Regions from separate parts of the Homo sapiens genome. Here region 2 is linked to region 1. The links are contacts of gene promoters, found by promoter capture Hi-C in blood cells and fetal thymus (Javierre and others, 2016). All regions are on one chromosome and are shown on one strand. Each heading gives the region's core, a stretch centred on a gene start or on the middle of the fragment in contact. The rest is flanking DNA. Distances are from core to core; before and after follow the strand shown.

Region 1 (7,659 bases), core at 333-2,832:
AAACAGGAGACAGAGGATAAGACAGGATGAGTTCGAATCTTCCTTTTTCTGGTAACCTGAGCATCACCACCAGGTCTACTCTCACATCCTCCCTGACTGTCACCTCCAACTCCAACACTACCTCTTTCATTGACACAACACCATCATCAGTATTGGTATCATCATCACCTCTACCTTTGCCATCACCATCACCTCCACCACCTTCACCACAACCACTGCTAGCCCCCTACTTCCATCATCACAGTTACATACATCATCACATCCATCACCACAGTCGCCTTCCCCGTCACCACTGTCACCATCTCCACTATCGCTGTCCAAAGACCTTTCTACCCCAACACTCTAATATGGCCTGAGTCTCTGCCCCTGCAAATTCCAGCAGAGATGCTGGCCTGAGAATACAGACTAGACCTACTGACAGTCAAGCAGAGGTAGGAAGTGCCTTCAGGAGAGGAAAGTGAGGCATCTGCCTTCATGTAGGAGACTGCACAGGCCCATGCAGATGCTCCATGTTGGTTAACAGGGAGCTCTGCACACACAACTCTGAACACTTTCTGCCTAAAGTGGGTGGGATCACTCCTCTCTAAGCCATGAGAAACAGATCCCACAGCCATCCCAGCCCAATCTGACCCTCATCACCCATTCACTCTTCTAATTCATTTATTCATTCAACAAACACTCCCGTAGGCCTGTTGGGGACCATGTCCTGGGCTGGGTCCTGGCTGTAGCAATTCTCAGGCCTGTTTGTAACTCTCTTGTCAGTCTGTTACCCCACTGCTGGGCCCTTCTCCACCCAAGTTCCCTTCCCCCAGATAGCTCGAAGGGCTTGTGCTCATCCTAGGTCACTAAGTTTTCTCACTGAAACACAGGAGACCTTCTCAGTTCACCAGGTGACCTTGAGCAAGTTCCCCTCCCAAACCACACCCAGTGAATACTGGAGAGAAGAAAGCTGACAGAAGCCGGGCTGGGTTAGGCCTGGCTGTGGGGACATCTGAGGGCAGCTAGGTGTCTGCAGAAGAGGAGGGGCTGGTGCTGAGGCCTGAGATGGGAAAAGACTGCAGTGGCTGGAGCCTGAGTGTCTGGTTCTGGGTTGGGAAGAATAGAGCCTGGGACTGGCAGTAGGAGTGGAGAGGGTGGCACCAAGACCTGAAAATGGGGCAAGGGTGGGGGCCGGGGCAAGCTCTGAGCTGGCAGGGAGCCAGGAAGGTCACAGGATCAGGGCAAGAACTCAGTTGTCTCTGAGGCCCTGGAGAGGGTGCAGACCTCTGAACCACCTGTCCTACCTTAAGGCAGGTGTGTTAATGCCCCTCCCTGGAGCAAAGGGCTGACCAGGCCTACGGCAGAAAGGTGAAGGTAGACAGACAGCCTCCTTCCTGCTGCCAGTTGGGACCTGGGCCAGGCAGATGGGTACACTCTCCCCTCCCCACTCCATGGCTGTTCCAGCCTCAGCAGCCAGTTTGAAGGATTCCCAGGGGGTAGCCACCTTGCTTCGGCCTCTTCCAGGCTGGGAAGTGGGAGCCTGTGCCTTTAAATTCTCAGCAGGTTGAAATGGCTGATGACATCACTGGTTCCCGGGAGCGGTAGAGCTGGAGCCGGAGCCAAGGGAGTCCAGGCTGCCGGGGGCTGCAGACATGGAGGGCCAGAGCAGCAGGGGCAGCAGGAGGCCAGGGACCCGGGCTGGCCTGGGTTCCCTGCCCATGCCCCAGGGTGTTGCCCAAACTGGGGCACCCTCCAAGGTAAGACCCCTGAGACCCAGTGCCCCCCGCTTTCCTGATCCCTGGTTCCACACACCCCCCCCACATACACTGCAGGCTCCCTGGTGCTCCTGACTGAGGGGCTGGTACTTTCCTCTGCTCAGCGAGCAGGGGCTAGGTGAAGAGAGCACCCTGGGGGCTGAGGGGCAGTGACAGGATGCCCGGAGACAGATGAAGTTAGCCATCTCCAGGAGCCCTTGGGAGAGTCCTGGACTGGGTATCAGAGGACCCAGCTGTGCTCCACCTTTGCTGTGTGACCTTGGCCAAGTTGCTTTTCCTCTCTGAGCCAATGCAAAATGAGGGGGCTTGTCGCTGAAGACTAAAACTGTGACATCTGGGATGGCTAAGTTGTTAGTACTGGAGGCGGTGTGATAGTTGGGGGGAAGCCGGCACACAGTGTGACACTTGGAGCCAAGGAGGGTGCCTAAAATGCCACCTCAAAGAACTGAGTTTGAGAAGGGAGGTGGAGATGGAGTTTTAGGTACTCTGAACTGAGAAGGATACGGGACAGAAACAGAAGTGCGTCTCCAGAGGCAGGGCCTCCCTGCGCCCTGTTACCCTACCTAGGGCCATCCTGGGGCAAGTATAGACATTCTTCTGCCCTCCTTGGTGAAGGACACTTTATCCTGTCTTCTGGAGACAGGGGACATCAGAGAGAATAGATGGGGAAGGAGGATAGGTCTCTACAGGACTCCGTGACTCCCCACCCCTCCCACCTGCCGGACATAAATGGGATACCTGCTTGCCTGTCCTTTCAGGTAGGGGAGAAAGTGGAGGATGTAAGAGGGCACAACCTGGGCACAGAGAGATGTGACACCAGGATCAACTTAGAATCCTGGACTTGCTCTGAATGCTAGATTCACACTTGGTGAGGATGGACTATTCAACGGGGCTAGATGGAATTCTAGCAAATGTTGGGCTCATAAATGCAGACAATGGGAGATGAAGATTCCCCAGAATATAATGTGGCCAGGAACCCTAGACCCCATCCCTTCATTTTACAGACAGAGAAACTGAGGCGCTGGGCAGAGAGGTACTTGCCTAAGGTCACACAGAGCTGGGCTTTGAATCTACACAGCCAGTCTCAGCTCCCAGCTCTTGCTCCTGAGTGGAGCTCTGGGAATGGGTAAGAGAACAGAGAGGGCTGTAACCAAGGGATTTGGATGTTTAGGGGGCGGTGGGGAACTGAGGGTTTCTGGGCATTATGAAGGAAGGGAGAGGTATTTAACAAGCTGCACCTGTAGGTCTGTATCTTGACAATAGAAAAAGAAAAGAAACAGGCTGTCCCCAGTGTGCCCAGACCTGGGATGTCAGGTCAGTAGCCGTGGCTGGGGGAGCTTCAGGGACTGCAGTGGGAGGGTTGCCCAGGGAAGCTGCCCCGAATGGGCAGGGTGTGGGTGCCAGCCAGGAAGGCAAGGCAAGTCCTCAGGTTTAGGTTCACACTCTGCCTCATTTGAGTCAGGGTCTGAGTTTCCCCATCTGTGAAAGAGGTTTCAGACTTAAAGGAGGGGTTAGGGTTTTGTGTCCTATCTCCTCCAAGACAGAAGTTGACCTGCAGCAGAATAGATTGAAGTGAGATAGTAGGAAGAACTTCCTTGGAAAGATGTGCCTTTCTTAGCTAGATGAACTCTGCCAGGGTCTATATGGAAGTTGGGGCCCAATGCCCTGGTTAGGGTCACTCTGAATCTTTGACTTGTCCTCCACAAGGTGGACTCAAGTTTTCAGCTCCCAGCAAAGAAGAACGCAGCCCTAGGACCCTCGGAACCAAGGTTGGCTCTGGCACCTGTAGGGCCACGGGCAGCTATGTCAGCTTCCTCGGAAGGACCGAGGCTGGCTCTGGCATCTCCCCGACCAATCCTGGCTCCACTGTGTACCCCTGAAGGGCAGAAAACAGCTACTGCCCACCGCAGCTCCAGCCTGGCCCCAACATCTGTGGGCCAGCTGGTGATGTCTGCCTCAGCTGGACCAAAGCCTCCCCCAGCGACCACAGGCTCAGTTCTGGCTCCGACGTCCCTGGGGCTGGTGATGCCTGCCTCAGCAGGGCCAAGATCTCCCCCAGTCACCCTGGGGCCCAATCTGGCCCCAACCTCCAGAGACCAGAAGCAGGAGCCACCTGCCTCCGTGGGACCCAAGCCAACACTGGCAGCCTCTGGCCTGAGCCTGGCCCTGGCTTCTGAGGAGCAGCCCCCAGAACTCCCCTCCACCCCTTCCCCGGTGCCCAGTCCAGTTCTGTCTCCAACTCAGGAACAGGCCCTGGCTCCAGCATCCACGGCATCAGGCGCAGCCTCTGTGGGACAGACATCAGCTAGAAAGAGGGATGCCCCAGCCCCTAGACCTCTCCCTGCTTCTGAGGGGCATCTCCAGCCTCCAGCTCAGACATCTGGTCCTACAGGCTCCCCACCCTGCATCCAAACCTCCCCAGACCCTCGGCTCTCCCCCTCCTTCCGAGCCCGGCCTGAGGCCCTCCACAGCAGCCCTGAGGATCCTGTTTTGCCACGGCCACCCCAGACCTTGCCCTTGGATGTGGGCCAGGGTCCTTCAGAGCCTGGCACTCACTCCCCTGGACTTCTGTCCCCCACCTTCCGGCCTGGGGCCCCCTCAGGCCAGACTGTGCCCCCACCTCTGCCCAAGCCACCCCGATCACCCAGCCGTTCCCCAAGCCACTCCCCGAATCGCTCTCCCTGTGTTCCCCCAGCCCCTGACATGGCCCTCCCAAGGCTTGGCACACAGAGTACAGGGCCTGGCAGGTGCCTGAGCCCCAACCTTCAGGCCCAAGAAGCCCCAGCCCCAGTCACCACCTCCTCTTCTACATCCACCCTGTCATCCTCCCCTTGGTCAGCTCAGCCTACCTGGAAGAGCGACCCCGGCTTCCGGTGAGGGGGCCCTCTCCCAAGAAAGGTGGCTGGGGCTTAGCTCTGAGGTTAGCCATTCTTCCAGGGTGGATGGTGTGCTCTACCTCAGCTTCTCTCTCTGAGGAAGAGTCTTTGGGGAGGGGGTTGCTGGGCCCACTCTGTGACGCTCAGAAGATAGCATCCCCTCCTAAGGAACTTGCCGCCTCTCAGTTGATCTCCCCAGGGAGAGTGTGGCAGAGGGACAGGATTCGGGGCCTCCTGTGGGTCCTTCTTAGGGCTTTGGCCCACACCTGCCTCCATTTAGTTCCCCAGGGAGTCCTGTGAAAGGAAGCTTGAGGGTGAGGGAGTGGTGCCAGGACTACACCCTCATATGCCCCTGCCCTCAGGATCACTGTGGTCACATGGAACGTGGGCACTGCCATGCCCCCAGACGATGTCACATCCCTCCTCCACCTGGGCGGTGGTGACGACAGCGACGGCGCAGACATGATCGCCATAGGGTGAGGTGGCAGGGCATGTGGACCCCCTCCTGAGCCCCTCGGGCCTTCCGGGCCCTCCACCCATGGCAGGGGCTTCCAGGGCACCTCTCCAATCCCATGGCCACCCTGCCCCCACCCCTCCAGGTTGCAGGAAGTGAACTCCATGCTCAACAAGCGACTCAAGGACGCCCTCTTCACGGACCAGTGGAGTGAGCTGTTCATGGATGCGCTAGGGCCCTTCAACTTCGTGCTGGTAACGCACCCCTCACCCCCTGGACAGCCAGAGACCCTGCTGAATTCCTGGCTCCAGCTGTACCCTGGCTCACTGTGGGGCCCGCTGGGCCTCTGTGGCTGGGTCCGTGACATGGGTGGGTGGAGGAGCAGACCTGAAGGTGGGCGCGAGGGCGGGGGAGTTGTGTTCTGTCCCCCAGCCACGTGGCCTCCCGCTGCAGGTGAGTTCGGTGAGGATGCAGGGTGTCATCCTGCTGCTGTTCGCCAAGTACTACCACCTGCCCTTCCTGCGAGACGTGCAGACCGACTGCACGCGCACTGGCCTGGGCGGCTACTGGGTGAGCCTGTGAGCAGGCCCAGAAGAGGATGGGACATGAAGGGGGCTTTAGATTAGTCCCCCCGCCCCATGCACAGCAAGGTCCCCTTCCCATCCTCCACCCTTTACCCTGCGGCCCAGCCCCCCCATGCACCACCCAATACCCCATCCTATTCCTCTATACCCCCGCCCTTTTCTCTCCCCACTGTGTCCCAGCGTTGTTCCTCATTTCTGTAGGACCCACCCACCTTCCACCCACATCTCCTCTCTAACCCCCGCTCCCAGTGCCTCACCTCCTGGCCTAAGCCCCGCCCATGAGCCATCCGACCCTGCCTCCCTAGGGTAACAAGGGTGGCGTGAGCGTGCGCCTGGCGGCCTTCGGGCACATGCTCTGCTTCCTGAACTGCCACTTGCCTGCGCATATGGACAAGGCGGAGCAGCGCAAAGACAACTTCCAGACCATCCTCAGCCTCCAGCAGTTCCAAGGGCCGGGCGCACAGGGCATCCTGGATCATGAGTATGGGCTGGGGTGGGGCCAAATAGAGCTTGGGTGGGGCTAGTGATGGGGGTTTTTGTACCACCTTGGGTGGGGCTTATGGAGAGAGGCAGGGCCTATGGGGTTTAGTGCCCACCCAAACTAGTTGTAGGAACACGAAAGCAGAGAGCAGTTGGATGGGGAGGGGCGGAGCTTGTAGGGTGGAGCTTTGCTGAGGGGCCCCGCCTTGCTGAAGGTCAGAACCTAATTTCCTGTAGACCGGTCCCTCTGCTTTTCCTCTGCCCTTTGGTGGGCTGGAGGCTCTGGCACCACTCACCCACTCACTACATCCCCTCGGGTTGGATGGGCTGGAAGGATCTGGGCTGAGCCCTTATCCTCCATGGACCTGTTGACACCCCCCACTGCCCCCCACATCTCTCCCATCCCCCACCCCAAACAGCCTCGTGTTCTGGTTCGGGGACCTGAACTTCCGCATTGAGAGCTATGACCTGCACTTTGTCAAGTTTGCCATCGACAGTGACCAGCTCCATCAGCTCTGGGAGAAGGACCAGGTGGGGTCCTTGTCCCCAGAAGCACACAGAGCATGTCCCAGGACACGCCTGTACCTTAGACTATGGTCCCTGTCCTCACCTGCCCCACCCCCTCCCTGGGCACAGCAGAGCCCAAGCTGTTGTCCAATCTGCTCTCCTGGACCCCCCACAGCTCAACATGGCCAAGAACACCTGGCCCATTCTGAAGGGCTTTCAGGAGGGGCCCCTCAACTTCGCTCCCACCTTCAAGTTTGATGTGGGTACCAACAAATACGATACCAGGTGAGCTCAGTCCGAGGAGGGACTGAGGGGAAGTGGGCTGAGGTCTTCTCGAACAGGGAGACTTTGGGAAGAGGGGCAGGAGGCAAGGTGGAGGGTTACATCTTGATCCCCAGCCCCTGAAACTTGGGGTACCCCTGCTCACTGCAGTGCCAAGAAACGGAAGCCAGCTTGGACAGACCGTATCCTATGGAAGGTCAAGGCTCCAGGTGGGGGTCCCAGCCCCTCAGGACGGAAGAGCCACCGACTCCAGGTGACGCAGCACAGCTACCGCAGCCACATGGAATACACAGTCAGCGACCACAAGCCTGTGGCTGCCCAGTTCCTCCTGCAGGTGAGTTCTGGCCTCATCCTCCCCGCATGAAATCCCCAGGCCCAACTCGGCATACCACTGCCCCTCACCATTACCCTTTGTATAACCCCTTGTACCTGCCCTCAGCAGCATCCATTTGTTGTAACAGTGGAAATGGGGTTGCAATCTACATTTTCAGATGAGGAAGCTGAGGCTCAGACACATGGCATCACCTGCCCAGGGTCACCCAACTAGTAAGAGGAACAGTTAGGATTTGAACCCAAGTGAGTCTGGTTTCAGAGCCCATGCCTTTTCTTTTTTTTTTTTTTTTTTTTTTTGAGACAGAGTCTCATTCTGTCACCCAGGCTGGAGTGCAGTGGCACGATCTTAGCTCACTGCAAGCTCCGCCTCCCGGGTTCAAGTGATTCTC
Region 2 (7,811 bases), core at 1,965-4,464, 200 kb after region 1:
GGATTTCCCCAAGGTTGGCAGAGAGCAGATGATGGAGCCGAATAGCCAAAGCTCAGGTGGTTCTTCCTTTTTTTTTTTTTTTTTTTTTTTAGCGTTAGGGCCTCACTCTGTTACCCAGGCTTGAATGCAGTGGCGTGATCATAGCTCACTGTGACCTTGAACACCTGGGCTCAAGCGATCCTCTTGCCTTAGCCTCCTGAGTAGCTAGGACTACAAGCGGGCACCACCATGTGCAGCTGTTCTTCATTTTTTGTAGAGATGGAGTCTTCCTATGTGGCCCAGGCTGGTCTCAAACCCCTGGCCTCAAGTGATCCTCCTGCCTTAGCCTCCCAAAGCTTAGGCTGCCAAGGGAGCAGTGCTTTGGAAGATGCAACAGCCTGCTTGCTCTGTTGTTCCCCTCCTGCCATGTGACAGATACTCCTTTCTAATACCTGTGGTCCCTACCTGTCCATGGACATGCTCACAGGTCTCCAGGGAGCAGAACTAAAATGCGTTCAGGAGCTCGGGCTGGCCCAGTCAAGTCCTTGGTTCAAGGCCAGGTTCTCTTAACACTCAGTGGGTGTGACCAGATTCTGTGGTGGTCACAAAGCTACGTGTCCACAGGGCCTCCACATTCTAGGGTCACCCTTTCCTTTGATACTCACATCTAATGGCCTAAGCCTCTATTCCACACAGTCTGCAAAGCCCAGCAGCTTACCAAGGATTTTGTGTAAATGGCTTAGAATTGTTTTTTAAAAAATTCAGCTGAGAGTCTTTACCTTTACACCAGAACAATGTAATTCTAGGCAGGGTGCAGTGGCTCACGCCTGTAATCCCAGCACTTTGGGAGGCCCAGGCAGGCAGATCACCTGAGGTCAGGAGTTCGAGACCAGCCTGGCCAATGTGGTGAAACCCCGTCTCTACTAAAAATACAAAAATTAGCCAGGCATTGTGGTGCATGCCTTTAATCCCAGTTACTCCAGTTACTCAGGAGGCTGAGGCAGGAGAATTGCTTGGACCTGGGAGGCGGAGGTTGCAGTGAGCCGAGATCACACCACTGCACTCCAGCCTGGGCAACAAGAGCAAAACTCCGTCTCAAAAAAACAAAAAATAATGTAATTCTGATACCAATGTGGGTCTAAAAATTTTTGTGCTGTTTGTTCCCCTAGGTCTGTTTTTCTCTCCTTTACCATTGTTTTGTTTTCTTCTTGCTTGGAGGTTAAATGCTGTCTCTATCCTTTTAGGGGTTTCCCTCTTCCCTGAGATTTCTCAAGATGCCCAGGGTGCCTTAAGTCTGCCTGTCCCTTCTTGTTCCTCATTCTTATTCCTATTAATTCTCCATCGTGCTTACTTCTTGCCTCCTGTTTGTTGTTCTTTCCCTCTTTTCTTCATACATTCACCATTAACGGTGCACCAACCTTTTACTTAACATCAGGTAGATAACATGGTGGGGGAGACAAGTTGCTGAGCTTCTTAGAGCCCCTTGGCCATGAGGAGTCCCTGCCCACATCCCTCCTCAGGTGCTAGCTGGGTAGGCTGTGTCAGATCCCCTCTATAAGCCTTCCCTCCCAGAGCCCCAACCCCACTTCACACCTCCCTGGTCCACCCTACTCACCCTCCTGCTGTCACTGTCCCCTCACCTTGCCCAGTTCTTCTCCTTGTATTTCTCATTATCTGAACTCATATTTAAGTTGTCTGTCTATCCCATTAAGCCTCACAGTGGTGTCTTGTTCACCACCATATCTCAAGAGCATGAAACCATGCCTGGCACACAAGCAGTGAAGACAAGCAGTGGATATTTGTTGAACACATGGGTGAATTCTGGCATTCTAAGTCTTCAGTGGGACCATCTACCTGTCAATCCCAGTGGAACTGGTGCAATGAAGTGGAAAAGGGGTCTCCTGGGATCCCACTCCCACCCCAGGTGCTGGGGTATGGACTGCCCACCTCTGGGTCCCAAAGACCCCCACAGCTGAAAAACTGGACTCAAGGGAGCAGATAGAGTAATGTACTAACATTTTTAATACAGTCTGATCAGATCAATTCACATCACAAGGTCAACCTGGGCTTGCTCACATGTGACACAACTGAGGTACACAATGTCCCTACCTGCCGGCTGTCCCACCTTCCTGGTTCCCAACAGCATTGAAACCCCCTACTTCCCTGACCAGACTGGCATTTTTTAAAATTTTGCATAAAACTATTTCTTCCATAGACTTCAAACAATCAACTAGCCAAGTTAATTATGGTACATCTAAACAAAGTTTAATACTAACCCTAATGTGTGACTGCGGTTTACAAAGAGCTCTGTATCACCTGGGATAGCTTTCAGTAGCAATTCACTACAACTGGTCCTAAAAAATAATAACAATAATAATAATAATTAGAGAATTAAAACCCAACAGCATGTTGAATGGTTAAAATCACGTAAGAACTGAAATTTGGGGTGGGGGTGTCCTCAACAGCTGAGCTTGTCCTAGCAGTGAAAATGCTCGCCTCCAAGCAGGGCTCAGAAAGGTCTGGAGCCCTCCAGGCAGAGGGCTGAGCTCAGGGGGCTCTTGGAGGACACTCACCCCATGGTCCATGGGATGCTTCTGGCTTCCTTAAAAACAGTTGGGCATCCGCATTGTATAAGTAGGTGGAGACCCTAGTGTGGTTCTTTTGAAGGATATGGGAAGGGAGGATGACGAACTAGAGAAGTGGGAGGGGACCAAAATCACTGAGGTCCCAGAATATCATAGATTTGGGTATAGGATTGGGGTCACTAAGAATTGAGCACCAGGAATTCCAGCTTCTTCCCATTAAAGAAACTGGGACTGGTTTTGCCTTGGAGGCCTATGTAGTGTTTTCTGCCCCTGTCCCATACCAAGTCTCATTGATATTTCTGCAGAATATCAGATGAAAATCTATTTCTAAAGACCATTGGGAGAATGGGTGGTGGAGAAGGAGTTGGAGTGGGGTTGGGGGGCAGTTAAAAATGAATAAAAATCTCTCAGCTACAGAACCCAAACATCACTTCCCTCCGCATTCACAGCATTTCCCAGCAGTCCCCAGATGGTTGTTTCCGTGGGGACACAGCAGCTGCCTCATTTCCCTTCAGGCCCCATGGGCTGCTGGTCAACCTCAGGATCTACTAAAGATGACGCAAATGCCGACTGAACAATCTGAAACCCAAAGGACTCGAGGAGAGACATGTTCTGCTGAGGAGAGAAAGGTGAGCCAAGGGCAGGGCCCAGGTCCCCCAGGGGGCCCCCGAGAGCCCGGACATGCACCTTCTGGATGTGTTTGTTCAAGTAGGACTTAGAGCGGAAGAAGCTCCCACATTCAGGGCATGGGTACTTCTTCTCCCCATCAGACTCCATTTTGTTTTTGGGGACTGCCATGTCGCAGGAGAAAGAGCCATTGGCACTCTGCTTCTCTGGCGTCTTCAGGTCGCTGGCATCTGAGAGGTCACCATAGGAGTCAGAGCTCTCAATCGGATCCTGATGTGAGCATTTCTGGCCTTCTACGAAAAAACAAAATATAGGAGAGCGATGAGGCCAGGCTCTGGAGATGCCCCCTCCTGGAGGGGTCATGAGGGGCCAGCTCACAGACCTGTGGAGGGCAGCCATTGGCCAGCCACTGCCCTGGCAGAACCCACGGAGGGTCAGCTGGTCAGTCTGGGAGCCTGGAGTGCCTACAGGGGTGAAACGGCAGGGCCCTAGGGCTGCCAGCCTCCCTTGCTGTGGACTCTTCATGCAGCTGCACATGTACTGCTCACCGTCATCTCAGCCTGCTTCAAGGAAGGGATACAGAGAGGGCAACTCTGCTACAGCTGCCCAGAACAACTCAAAGACCCCCAACTCCTAGGCGCTCTTTTGGGTGCCTCTGAGGGTAAAATTGGTATTCTGATGATGCCGAGCCAGTGTAATAGTAGCCTCGCCTCCTGCACCAGACTAGCTGCACCCTAGCAAGACAGGCAGAACCAGAGCCATTAGGTCCTCAACCTGGGTAGACCCCATCAATGGCTCAGACAGAAGCCAATCCTTTTCCTAATGCTGCAAACATAGCCCTGTCCTTACCGCCTTCCTTCTGCCAAAACCTTTTCAGGGCCAAGCAGCCCAAGCACAGAGATTGAAAGCAACTCTGTACTACTCAGTCGGCTGGGTGTCCCCACCCTAGGCCCCAGACAAGCTGGGCCAAGAGACAACCCTGGCTGCTCTGCCTTGCCCGGCCCACACTGGAGTCCTCCACCAATCAGCAGCTTCCTGCCTGGGTCCAGAGAGCCATGCCGGGAAGGGAGGTCTGTGATGGGAGCATGGAGCATGCCATCTCTGCTGTTTCTACCATCTGCCAAGCCCCTGGCCTCATCCCCAAGGCAACGACAACGTGACATACCACAAAACAACCTGAATCAACAAGTGAAGGTGGGCCTGGGGAGCTTTCTGCAAACCAACTCCCAAGTCAGAGGAGTCAGATAGCTCATTATTGCCATGCATCTCACAACCATAGCCAGAGGCTCTCCAGAAAGGGCCACTCACAGTAACCAACCACTCCTACTGTGAGAGAAGCCAGACATTGGCTCCCACCGGCCCACTGGGTCAAAAGAGGAGAAAGCATTCAGCCGCAGCTCCACACCATCCTAAAGGGCAGCAGGCAGTGACAGGCCCATAGTGACTCATCATGCAGGGCTCTTCTTCTGCCCAGGGCCCGGGGCATCCCTGCAGGGCTCCAGACAGTGGGGGCTGGCCAGGAGGAAAGGAGGAGGGCTGGGGAAGAGGAGGCGGAGGCTGGATCTCGGCAGTGCCCTAAAGCCTCACTCACTGCCCTGGAGTGAGATACCCACTGTGACTTTTGTCCTGGAGGCCACTGCCACTCAGATCTCTGAGTCTCCTCAAGGCAGCCAGAAAGCCGGCAGCCTTCCCGCCTCCCCACGCCCAGCCCAGCGCCCCCACAACACAGTCTGCGCAGAGAAGCAAAGTGCAGAGCAAGGGGTCGCTTGCCTTTGTTGCCATAGGTCCTGGCGCAGTGGAACGCTGCTCCCCCATTCAGGATGGGCTCCTGGTGCCTGGAGACCTGGGGAAGGGGAACACCGTGGTGGGTTTTAACATGGACCTTTAAGTAGGAGGCAGAGGAGAAACCTAAACAAGACAAAAGGAGATGAGATCCCGCGGCCAGCAAGAGATACCTCTCTCCTTCCCCCAACTCCTCTCCTCTGGCCGCTCTGGCTAGCATTCCCAGGTCAGCTGCACCTAGAAGGGGCCCCCTCCTGGCTCAAAAATGGCTGCAACCACATGAGCCATGTGACTCAGGATGGAGGGTGGCACTGTCCACAAATCGGCTTCTCTGCAGAGCCCACTCTGCAAGGCTGCGGTGAGGGGCTGAGGCTGGCTGCCTGGTGGGATGGCCTGAGATCCTGCTCCTGCTAGGGCCAGAGGCCAACTGCCTCTAGGGTTGCTTGGTGCCTCAGTAACAGGTGGTTTGAGTGGATGTCTCCTGCAGGAACCATGACTAGAAATGTGGTTAGACAAGAATTTGAGGCTCCAGGGAAGCCACAGGATTCTAGCCAGCAGGATGCCTGCTTAATCCTCGTAAAAGGAAACTGGACAACAAACGAGATGGAGGTAAAATGAAATCCCAAAGGAACGCCTCCAAGGATCCCGTCTTCTACCTGTCAGGAGATGTTCTATTTTTCTAACTTCCCCACCTTCAGCATAACAGGATTTAGTAACTGTTTAGACCTTTTGAAGAACAAAGACAAAAATAGGAAGTTGTGTCAGAGGAGTGCAGTCATCTCTTATTCATGGTAGTGTTTTGGTTCGATTTTGGAGCATCCACCAGGTTCGCGTACAGGAGAAGAAACACGGATGATCTCTGTCTTTATTTTGGGGGAGGACAATCCGGCCTTCTTGGGACTGTTCCAGCCCACCTCCCAGATGCTTCGGTCAGTCTGATCCACGAGATATCTCAGGCTGGGAAGAACACATCTTGGGCCAACTTCCACAGCAGCCATGCGTCCAAGGATACAGAATCAGGCAGGCCGATAAAAGGATTTTGACTTGGGTTTCACAGGAAGGAGGTATGCCATCAAACCCCACTGTAGTCAAGGATCAGAAGGTGCTTTTAGCAGGAACTGAAGCTTTTTAGTATAAGGCCCACTTAGGGTGCCAGCACCCTGACAGTGTCCCTTTAATCCACTTCAGATCTGGTTGACTCATCATCAGGTGTTTCCATTCACTTTCAAAATTACACAGTCACAGGATAACAGTGAGATCCACTGCTAAAGGGTAAAGGGTCAGAGGCTGAAGAGTACTGTGTAATGTCTGCATGAGATTTGTTTTAAAAAAGTCTGAATTGGCATGGTATTTTGAATGCTGCTGGAACTGTAATAAAGGTTCACCTTTAGGAAGTGCTGATGGCACACCAGGGCCCAGCACACCGCATGCACTATTCTATAGAATTTGCCCAACACCCTTTGTGCTACAGATTACTATTATACCCATTTTACAGATAAAGAAATAAGAGGCTTTGTGAGGTTAGGGAGGCTGAGGTGGGCAGATCACGAGGTCAGGAGATCGAGACCATCCTGGCTAACACAGTGAAACCCCGTCTCTACTAAAAATATAAAAAATTAGCTGGGCGTGGTAGCAGGCACCTGTAAGCTGAGATCATGCCACTGCGCTCCAGCCTGGGCAACAGAGCGAGACTCCGTCTCAAAAAAAAAAGAGGCTTGGTGAGGTTAAGTAACCTGGTCACACGTACAGCTACTGAGTGGCAGAGCCTGGACTCCAACCCCAGGATCATGTGCCACCAGAACTTGGCCCTTAGCTACTGGGCAGATGCTTTAACCCACTTATGCCTCATGTTCCATTATTGGGACGCTAACCTTTTAGGAATTATTTGTATCCTACTGCTCAAGATCATCATTAAAGTCTGATTTTTCACAAAAAAGTTTGTAACCTCCAGCATAAATGGGTTAATTGGTTCCTGTGTCTTAGCCCTGAGCCCTAGAAATATCCAGTGGACTTTTACAATAGGTTTCATTATTACCATTTACACTCATGTATTTTTCGACCATAATGGTATGTTAGAATGGAAGCTGCTGGAAAAACAGGGCTGGCCTGTGGGAACTTTATTTAACAAGTTCTCCTCTGACAGCAGCAGTTAGTGGTTCTGAAGGGAAATGTGGGATTGGGCCAATTTTCCTTCCTTTCCCAATACAGCTACTTCAAAGATCTGTCTAGACCAGGTGCTGGTGTCCTGCCCTGCCTGGTAGAGCAAGTTGTCCTGTGCTATGACCGCAGTGGTCTGCCTGAGGCTGATCATGGGTATAGATTGGTGTAAGAGGGTCCCATGTAGACATCCCTAAGAGGGAGGCTGTAGTCAGGAGTGAGGAGACAAGGCTAATGGGAAAGAGGCTGTTAGCCCTGCCCCTTGGGGTGGTACTGTAGAGTCCCCTAAAACAAAGCAGAACCAGGAGACATTGGCTCCCACCAATCAGTACAAGATATTAGAACTTTCTGATAATATGATGATACCACTTTAGAAGGTAATTTTTTCCTTTTTTTTTTTTTTTGAGACAGAGTCTCACTCTCGCTCAGGCTGGAGTGCAGTGGCACCATCTCGGCTCACTGCAAGCTCCGCCTCCAGGGTTCATGCCATTCTCCTGCCTCAGCCTCCCTGGTAGCTGGGACTACAGGCGCCCGCCACCATACCTGGCTAATTTTTTTTGTATTTTTAGTAGAGACGGGGTTTCACCATGTTAGCCAGGATGGTCTCGGATCTCCTGACTTCGCGATCCACCCGCCTCGGCCTCCCAAAGTGCTGGGATTACAGGCGTGAGCCACCGTGCC

What was found. Contacts are between HindIII fragments. The CHiCAGO score rates a contact against its expected background, and 5 or more counts as called.
Region 2: a fragment that was not itself captured here is called in contact with the fragment with the promoter of INPP5J in region 1 in 1 of 17 cell types (neutrophils); the score reaches 5.8 in neutrophils.

Annotation. Positions count from the first base shown.
Region 1 is chr22:31,121,384-31,129,042 of GRCh38, forward strand. INPP5J (inositol polyphosphate-5-phosphatase J) reads left to right here and starts at 1,583. Exons shown (of 13, transcript NM_001284285.2): 1 at 1,583-1,736; 2 at 3,462-4,627; 3 at 4,993-5,106; 4 at 5,230-5,338; 5 at 5,538-5,654; 6 at 5,974-6,149; 7 at 6,568-6,679; 8 at 6,831-6,940; 9 at 7,088-7,271. The coding sequence starts at 1,632. The HindIII fragment of the contact is 6,854 bases long and covers 1-4,935 here.
Region 2 is chr22:31,323,826-31,331,636 of GRCh38, forward strand. PATZ1 (POZ/BTB and AT hook containing zinc finger 1) reads right to left here. Exons shown (of 5, transcript NM_014323.3): 4 at 4,962-5,099; 5 at 1,979-3,484. The coding sequence ends at 3,066. Among named protein-coding and RNA genes, the nearest start is that of PIK3IP1-DT, 7.6 kb to the right of the region's middle. RefSeq lists an enhancer at 5,154-5,838. The HindIII fragment of the contact is 5,762 bases long and covers 334-6,095 here.